Linked DNA regions of Homo sapiens: all the other regions are linked to region 1. Evidence: promoter capture Hi-C in human tissues and cell types (Jung and others, 2019). All regions are on one chromosome and are shown on one strand. The core of a region is centred on a gene start or on the middle of the fragment in contact, and the rest is flanking DNA. Distances in the headings are between cores, read along the strand shown.

Region 1 (2,700 bases), core at 91-2,590:
AATACAATTGTTTATTCATTCATTCAACAAATATTTATTGAGATCTGCAACACGCCAGGCACTGGGGATACACAAGCGAACACAGAGTGTCCCTGTCCTCCCGGGGCTCACATTCTAGAGGGGGAGACAGTCAACAGGTGAACAGACAGTCAACAGGTGGAAAGAAGGTAACCTCAGAGGTGATGGCCCCTGAGAAGTCTGGGGCTGGGTGGTCTTTACACAAGGTGCTGGGCAAGGCCTGTTTGAGACAAGCAGAGGAAGAAGCCCGCCAGGCCCAGGCTTGAGAAAAGGACCCGGGGGGAGGGAAGCTGCGGGGGGGGCGGGGGGAGGGGGAGGCTGGGAGAAGAAAGGCTGGGGGCAGTAGTGAGAAAGCAAGAGGAAAGAGCAAGCTGCAGAGTGGGTTCTGAGTGCTCGGCAGGGGCCTCGCGGGCCATGCAGCCGACTTAATTTAGAACTGCATTTAGTTGTCAAGTGATGGGAAGCCCTTGGAGCAGGGAAATGACACATTTAATTTAAGCTTCACAAAGCTAAGCTGGGGGTGGGGGGGGGTTGGCAAGTTGAGGGGGGTGTAAGTTGCGTGGGGGTGGGGACCAAGAATGCAATTGTAAGTACTAAGGAGAAGACAAATGGGGTGTCCCAGAACAGAAATACAAGCAAAAGGAAACATGACTGAAGTACAGCGTGCTCCAATCCAGGCTGACCCTGTCCAAGTCCCAAAGTTAACAGCGCCCACTTTGGAGGCAGGCTGACCTGGGCTTAAATCTAGGCTTACCAACCGTGTGACCTTGGGCAGGTGACTTCGCCTCTGAGCGCCTCAGTCTCCTCGTCTGAACGATGGGTTAACAATAGCGCCTACCTGAAAGGGCTGTGGCTGCCATCACGTTTGTGGGGCCCAGCTGTGCGCGGTGGGCGCCCAGCAGCTGCTGCGGCTGTGAGTAATTTGTTACTAAGAATAGTTAGCGCCCCTCTCGGGGCCGCCGACTCCCAGCGGCCGCGCGCACTAGGCGAGGCCGGACCCCCGGCCTGGACGCCGGCTTAGACGCTGTCCCCAGGCCCCCAGTCCCAGCACCCCAGCCAGGCCCCGCCCCCAGCCCCGCTCACCTGGGCCGCGGCGGCCCGGGGATGTGCTCGTAGCGGCTGCGAGCGCGGTGCACGAAGGTGCAGCAGAGGCCGAAGGCGAGCAGGACGGCGCTGCCGAGCAGCAGCAGCCCGGGGCTCATGGCTCCGGGGCAGGGCAGGCCAGGCCAGGGTCGGGCCGGGCGCCGAGGGGGCCGGGAGGCCGCGAGCCGACTCAGCTGTCAGCGCCGCGCGCCGCCTCGGCCCCAGGCCAGGCGCGACCCAGCACCCTCCCCGCCCGCTCGGCTCCGCCCCCGCCGACTCCGACCCCTCCCAGGGCGCACAGTCCCCGCCAACCACGTCTCCGCCTCCGGCTCCGGCGCTCCGGGCCCTCCCCCGCCCCGCCCCGCCCCCCAGAGCTCCGCCCCAACCTCCACACCGCCCCAGCCCAGGCCCCACCCCGAGCATGTGGTCTTCACCAATCACAACTCCGCTTCTGGCTCAGCCCCCCAGGCTCCGCCCCCACCTCTTCAGACTCAGGTCCGCCCCAGCAGCAGCTCCGCCCAGAACGCGTTGTCCCTGGCAACGCCGATCCTCAGCGCTCTGGCCCGGCGGCGGCGCGAAGTCCTGCTGGCTGGCTCCGCCCGCTTCGGCGCCTCCAAATAACGGCATCTTTCCGCGCGCGGTCTTAGGCCCCTTCCTTTTTCCCCCAAACCTGCCCGGAAACCCCATCCCAGCCTGCAAAAGTCCGCATAACGCCGACTGTTCCCAAACTTCTCCTTGGAACCCCAGACCCCCAAAGTTGTTCTCCAGTTGCCCCGGGGCGCCTCCTCCGCCCGGACAGTCCACGCCTAGCGCCCGTGGTCCGCCAGCGGGGCCCGCGGGCTGGTGGCAGGATCCTGCGGGACCCAGGGACGCCTGTGTCTGCGACCGAGAGCGCACGGCGTGGCCGGAGGCTGTTCTCCCAGAGACTCGGGGGCCTGCGGACCCTCCTAGACCAGGCGAAGCCCCATCTGAGGCGCTGGCTCAGGCCCGAAGGAGTTGGAGTTGGAGGGATGAAAATCTGGGTCCGCCCTCCAGGGAAAGCGGGAAATGTGCCGGGGAGGCGGGGGTAGCGGAGGAGAAGGTATTTTCGAAATAATGACCAGGGCTTCCCCCTCTGTCGTAACCCGCGTCTCCTTGCCCATCCCGTATGAAGATGAGGCCAATTCTGGGCGTTTTAGTTCCCAATTCCTATCCCGAGGGACCACCCAGCGTGAAAGTCGTGGCAGGGGAAGGCCAGGTGTGCCCACTCCTAGCCCAGGTAAAGGTCCCCCGGGCTGGAGGTAGAGGCCCAGGGAGTGTAGATGCTGCTGGGTTTCTGAGAAGAGGCAATGCCCCTGCCCCACGCTTGAGCCAGTCCTGGAGAGGTTGGGGGTTGGAAAACGAAGGGGACCTTGGTACCGCCTTCCCAGGTATAGTTAGGGACATGGGACATGGCTGTTAGGGGTGTGGGCTGAGGGGCGACGGAGACGGCCAAGTCTTAAGAGCCGTGCCCAGCACGGAGGAGGCGGGACTTCTGCCCTCGGGGCCACCGCAGCCTGGACAGGTGGGCAGCAGAGCATCCATCCCCCCGGCGCCTGGCCCGGCCGCCCAGTTGGACTC
Region 2 (2,700 bases), core at 54-2,553, 360 kb before region 1:
ACAACTGAGTTGTATACTTTCAAAGGGTGGATTTTATGGTATGTATATTATATCTCAATAAAGATATTGTTTAAAAATGCCCCAAATGCAGACTGAAAATATAAATGCTTCCAACTGGGTTATGAAGTAACAGGAGAATTTTGAGACTGTTGAAGAAAACCATCCCACATTCTGACTCACATCAGAAACAATACTCAGTATAAAGGACTGCATCCAGGGTGATAATTCTCAAGTTATTTCAGCTGTCCAGAGAGTACAATGACATAAAATGAAGCAAGGGCGCTGCTGACAAAAAAGGCCTCCCTAGAATACACAGTTGCAGTACATGTGCTCTTTGGCTTCCAGGCAATTCCTTGAACTTGAACTACACTCACACGCTTTGAGGCAAGCCTATGAACTTGACCTGAGAACTGTTTATTTCCCAAGCTATATGTTTCCAAACCTTCTGCTTCCTATCAATGATTTCCAATGGTTTTAAGGAACATTTAAAGAAAAATAGGACACATTAGCTAGATTTGGTTAATTACAAATCAAATAAATCCAAAGGAACATAATAATGCAAAACTACTTCACCACTTAAATTACTGGAGTTTTTGTTTCTCAGACCTTTTTGCTTGGTTTGGTTTTGCTTTTATTTCATTTCCATGAATGTAACACCTACATAGATTGGTGGTGTAACCACCACCACAATCAGAAGGCAGAAGAGTGCCATCACTCCCAAGCTCCCTCAGCTCTCCCTTTGTAGTCATATCCGCCCCCACCAATTCCCAGCAACCACTGATCTGTTCTCCATCTCAACAGTTTTGTCTTTAGGAAAATGTCATGTTAATAGAATCATACAACGTGTAACATTTTATGACTTAATAGGCCTCCTTTATTCAGTGTAATGCTTTGAGATTCATCCGAGCTGTTGTGTTAGTTAATAATTAGTGTTTTTTTTGTTTGTTTTTTTGCAGAGTAGTGTTCTGTTGTATGGACGTATTACAAGTTGTTTATCCATTTAATCAAAGGACATTTGGGCTGTTCACAGTTTTTGGCAATGGTCACGAACGTAAGCTTTCATTTCCATAGGCTGACTATGTAGGATTGCTGGGTTATATGTTAACTGTATGTAAAACTTTATAAGGAACTGCCAAACTGCTTTCCAGAGTAGCTGTGCCATTTTGTATTCCTTCTGGCAGTGTAGGAGAGTTGCTGCTCTGCACCCCCAAGGCACTGTCAGTATTTCATCTTAGTCACTCTAGTAAGTGCATATGATATCCTAATTTTAACCTACATTTCTCTAATGATTAATGATGTCATGCATCTTCTCTCGTGCTTATTTGCCATCTGTATATCCTCTTTGGTGAAGTGTCTGTCTTTTGCCCAGTTGAAAAAACTGGGTTACTTTCTTATAGTTAAGTTTTGAGAGTTCTTTATATATTCCAAAGACAAGCCCTTTGTATTTGTAAATATTTTCTCCAAGTCTGTCTCTCGTCTTTTCATTCTTATAAAAGTATCCTTCACAGAATAATAGTTTTTAATTCTGATGAAGTCAAAATTTATCTTTTTGATGAAATTTAATTTGATGAAGTCCAATTTATCCTTTTTCTTTTATGGATGGTGCTTTCGCTGTCATGTCTAAGAACCTCTTCCCTAAATCCCAGGTCATGAAGATTGTCTCAAGTTTTCTTCCACAAGTTTTATAGTTTTAGATTTTATATTCAGATTTATGAACCACTTTGAAGTAACTTTTGTATAACATGTGAGGATTAGGCCAAAATTCACTTCTTTTTGCATAAGGGTGTCCAATTGTTCCAGTACCATTTGCTGAAAAGGCTATACTTTCTCACTGAACGGACTTTTTACCTTTGTCAAACATCACTTGGCATTTTTGTCGGGACCTATTTCTGGACTTTCTACCCACGTGTCCAAGCTCTCTGTAGGGTAACTTGTAAAAACACCAGGCTAACTCACAATCTGAATAATGAACAGTGGTTGGGTACCTGGTTTATTCCGTGATATAGGTTGCAGAATGTGTAACCCAGGCTACACAAATGAAATATTTAGATCAGTTTTTGATATTACAATATAAGCAAGGCACTGCCAACCTGGAAGCATTCCTTGACGGCAACTAAGATAATAAGGCAAATAGAAATCATAACATCTGACAACTGGCTGAGGAAAGCAGGGCTGTCTGTCCCGGAGCAATGGAAAGAGAGTGTGAGCTCTGGCTCTGGACCTGTGCAACGGAGCTCAGTGGAAAGAACGGATCCTTCTGTGTGATCCCTAGGGAGACGATTCTGCCCAATGACTAGAACCAGGCTCTGTGCTTGGGTACAGGGAGTCCAGAGATAGATAGGCTATGCTTCCTGCTTTCAGAGGGGGAAGCTACAGGAAAACTATTTTGGTTTGCCATTGGCCATCTAGCCAATGGTAACTATAGCGCCCGTCTACTTTAGGTAAGAGACTGGATCAAAGGACTTGCAGGGCTCTGATTGTTTTCAGATTAAACCCAAGGACAGTTTCTGTCCTAGGTTTAACGGCTTCCTGAAGAAACTGGGGTCAGGTAAAAAAAAAAAAAAAAAAAAAAAAAAAGAGAGAGAGATCTGCCCAAGGTCTCAAAATATTGGCTGCAAAACTGAGTTTAGAAATCAACCCTCCTGCTGGGCGCGGTGGCTCACGCCTGTAATCCCAGCACTTTGGGAGGCCGAGGCGGGT
Region 3 (2,700 bases), core at 147-2,646, 510 kb before region 1:
TGCTGAGATTATAAGCATGAGCCACTGTGCCTGGCCCAACATTTTTAAAATTTACTTACACAATTCAGCAGATGTTTATGACTGAGCAGCTGCATTGATTGAGTGCCTGCTGGGTGCTGAGCACTGTGCCACGAGCTCCAAGTATCCAGGAGGTCATTTCATCCTCACACTGGCCCAAGGAGAGCATACAGGTTACAGATCAGAGTCTAAGAGGTGGTAGACGAGGCAAGGAAACGTGTAGGTACTTGAAGGCTTTTTTTTTTTCTTTTTTTTGAGATGCAGTCTTGCTCTGTTGCCCAGGCTGGAGTGCAGTGGTATGATCTCGGCTCACTGCAGCCTCTGCTTCCTGGGTTCAAGTGATTCCCTTGCCTCAGCCTCCCAAGTAGCTGGGATTACAGGAGCCTGCCACGATGCCCAGCTAATTTTTTTTTTTTTTTTTAGATGGAGTTTCACTCTTGTTGCCCAGGCTGGAGTGCAATGGCGTGATCTCTGGCTCACCGCAACCTCCGCCTCACCGCAACCTCTGCCTCCCAGGTTCAAGCCATTCTCCTGCCTCAGCCTCCCAAGTAGCTGGGATTACAGGCATGTGCCACCACACCCGGCTAATTTTTTTTGTATTTTTAGTAGAGATGGGGTTTCTCCATGTTGGTCAGGGTGGTCTCGAACTCCCAACCTCAGGTGATCCGCCCGCCTCGGCCTCCCAGAGTGCTGGGATTACAGGCCTGAGCCACTGCGCCCAGCATGCCCAGCTAATTTTTTTTGTATTTTTAGTAGAGACAGGGTTTCACCATGTTGGCCAGGCTCATTTCGAACTCCTGACCTCAAGTGATCCACCCGCCTTGGCCTCCCAAAGTGCTAGGATTACAGGTGTGAGCCTGGCCTATGTGAAGGTTTATTTAAGCCCTCACCTCTCAGTGGTAGGCAGTGATTAGATAATACCTCAATGTGAAAAAATCAGTAACCATTAGTACTGTGTAAACCTGTCACTTCCACATATGGAGGTGAGAACCTGAAGAAACATCTAGAGGAGTACAAAGTGGCTGCCTCTTTGGGGAGGACCCAGGGTGGGCAAAGCAAGGCAAGGGACTGCCTTTTTTCATTGTAAGCCTTGTAGTTCTATTTGTCTGTTAAAAATATGTACGTGTTATTAATTTTATTGAAAAGAAAAGCTAAAGCAAAAAAGAAAAAAGGAAGAAAATGAAGGATCAAAGAGGTGAAGTAATTCGCCCAAGGTAACACAGGATTCAGAACTAAGTGTGTCTGAGTTCATATTTGGGATAGCCACAACCCTGCAGCCTTGCCCAGCCCTTGGCCTGATGCTGGAGTTGGGGTCTATGGGACCAGCCTCCAACCTTGAAGACAGATCACCTTCTGCTATGAAATGTTGCTGAAGTGAGAGCCTGTTGGAGACGTTCACCTGATGAGCCTTGATGAAACAGAAAGGACTTTTCACATGTCTGACCTTGCAGGCTGGTTTGTGGGGATTCAGTGTCCACCAAAGCCCCAGCCCAGTGCCAGCAAATCAGTAGAGTGTTGTCTAAGTCAGCGGCATTGTTTTGCGAGCCCATGGATGAGCTGTTCTCCAAGGTCAGCCACAAATGTGTCAGAATTCAAACCCAGGGCCTGGGGTTGAATTCAGGTCTCAGTAGCTGATGATCCTCAGCACAAATGGTGGGGCCAGTGCTGAGAAGTACATGGAGTCTGGAAAGTAAGGCCTGGTCTTGGCAATGTGGTGGAGGTGGGGCTGGATGGACCCTGGAGAGAGCAGCATGTGAAAGGCCCAGATGCATGGCCTGGGAGCTGACATGGGTCAGTGTAGCTGGAGAATAGAGCACAGGGTGGGAGAACCAGGAGGTTGCAGCCAGAGATGGGCAGAGGTGGAAGCAGGGCTTTGAAGGGCCTTGCAGGTTGCCATTGGCCCTGATGTCAGGGTAGCAGTGAAGGCCTGTGGCCATCACAAATGCCTGTCTATGCTCACCTTTCCCCTCCGCTTGCCTTCCCACCCCCACCCCCACCCCCGCCCCCGCAGGCGCTGACTCTCCCTTCCAGGGCCCTGCCCATCAGTTTTCACCAGCAGAGCTTCAGGCGCAAGGCTGCCTGGTATGAGGGTGCCCTCAGCTCCCCAGGCCTGTCCCCAAACAGTCCAGCTGGGGGACCCAGACAGTCATTCAGCCTCTAGGGGCCTCCACTGACTCCCCAGGAACAAAAGAGCCTTTGTGCCTCCCTCCCAGGGCTGCCATGGGCCTGAACATCAAGTAGCCTCTAAAGTACCTGGCAGGGGGCCTGGTACTCAGATGATGCCCAGGGATGTTACTTCCTAGCTATCGTCCCGCTCCTTGGTTTATATTAACACACAGGTATTAACGTGCCTTCTGTGAGCCACTCCTGCTTACTGGGGAGATACAGAGATGAAAAGTCAGTGGGTGTAGACAAGCAGATGGCAGCCCAGTGTGGGGTGGTCGGTGCCAGTAGGAGGAAGATGCACAGGGTATGAAGAAGCCCCAGAAGGCCCTTAACCCAACCCCAGCCGGGATTGCAAAGAACAGTCGGAGCAAGCGAGGGGGAGAGGAAGGGGGGAAAGGTCGTTCTGAGCAGAGGGCACAGCCTGGGTGAGTCTAGGCCGGCAAGGAGCACGTGGCAGGCCAGGGGGCCTGGCGGGAGGTCTGGCAAAGATTTGTGCCTTTATCCCCAAAAAGCCAC

Evidence for each region. The method cuts DNA at HindIII sites, captures the fragments that hold promoters and counts their contacts. A contact is called where the count stands out against the background at its distance.
Region 2: a fragment that was not itself captured here is called in contact with the fragment with the promoter of CYP46A1 in region 1 in 2 of the 25 tissues and cell types used here (IMR-90 fibroblasts and lymphoblastoid cells).
Region 3: a fragment that was not itself captured here is called in contact with the fragment with the promoter of CYP46A1 in region 1 in 1 of the 25 tissues and cell types used here (lymphoblastoid cells).

The regions. Positions count from the first base shown.
Region 1 is chr14:99,682,938-99,685,637 of GRCh38, reverse strand. It overlaps CYP46A1 (cytochrome P450 family 46 subfamily A member 1), which reads right to left and starts at 1,340. Exons shown (of 15, transcript NM_006668.2): 1 at 1,102-1,340. The coding sequence starts at 1,220. RefSeq lists a silencer at 956-1,535. The HindIII fragment of the contact is 8,159 bases long and covers 1-2,700 here.
Region 2 is chr14:100,046,996-100,049,695 of GRCh38, reverse strand. LOC124903379 (a long non-coding RNA gene) reads left to right here. Exons shown (of 2, transcript XR_007064329.1): 2 at 1-2,700. It also overlaps a transcript of EVL not described here. Among named protein-coding and RNA genes, the nearest start is that of EVL, 17 kb to the left of the region's middle. The HindIII fragment of the contact is 6,293 bases long and covers 1-2,700 here.
Region 3 is chr14:100,193,277-100,195,976 of GRCh38, reverse strand. No RefSeq gene overlaps it. Among named protein-coding and RNA genes, the nearest start is that of DEGS2, 35 kb to the right of the region's middle. RefSeq lists a silencer at 2,116-2,205. The HindIII fragment of the contact is 8,266 bases long and covers 1-2,700 here.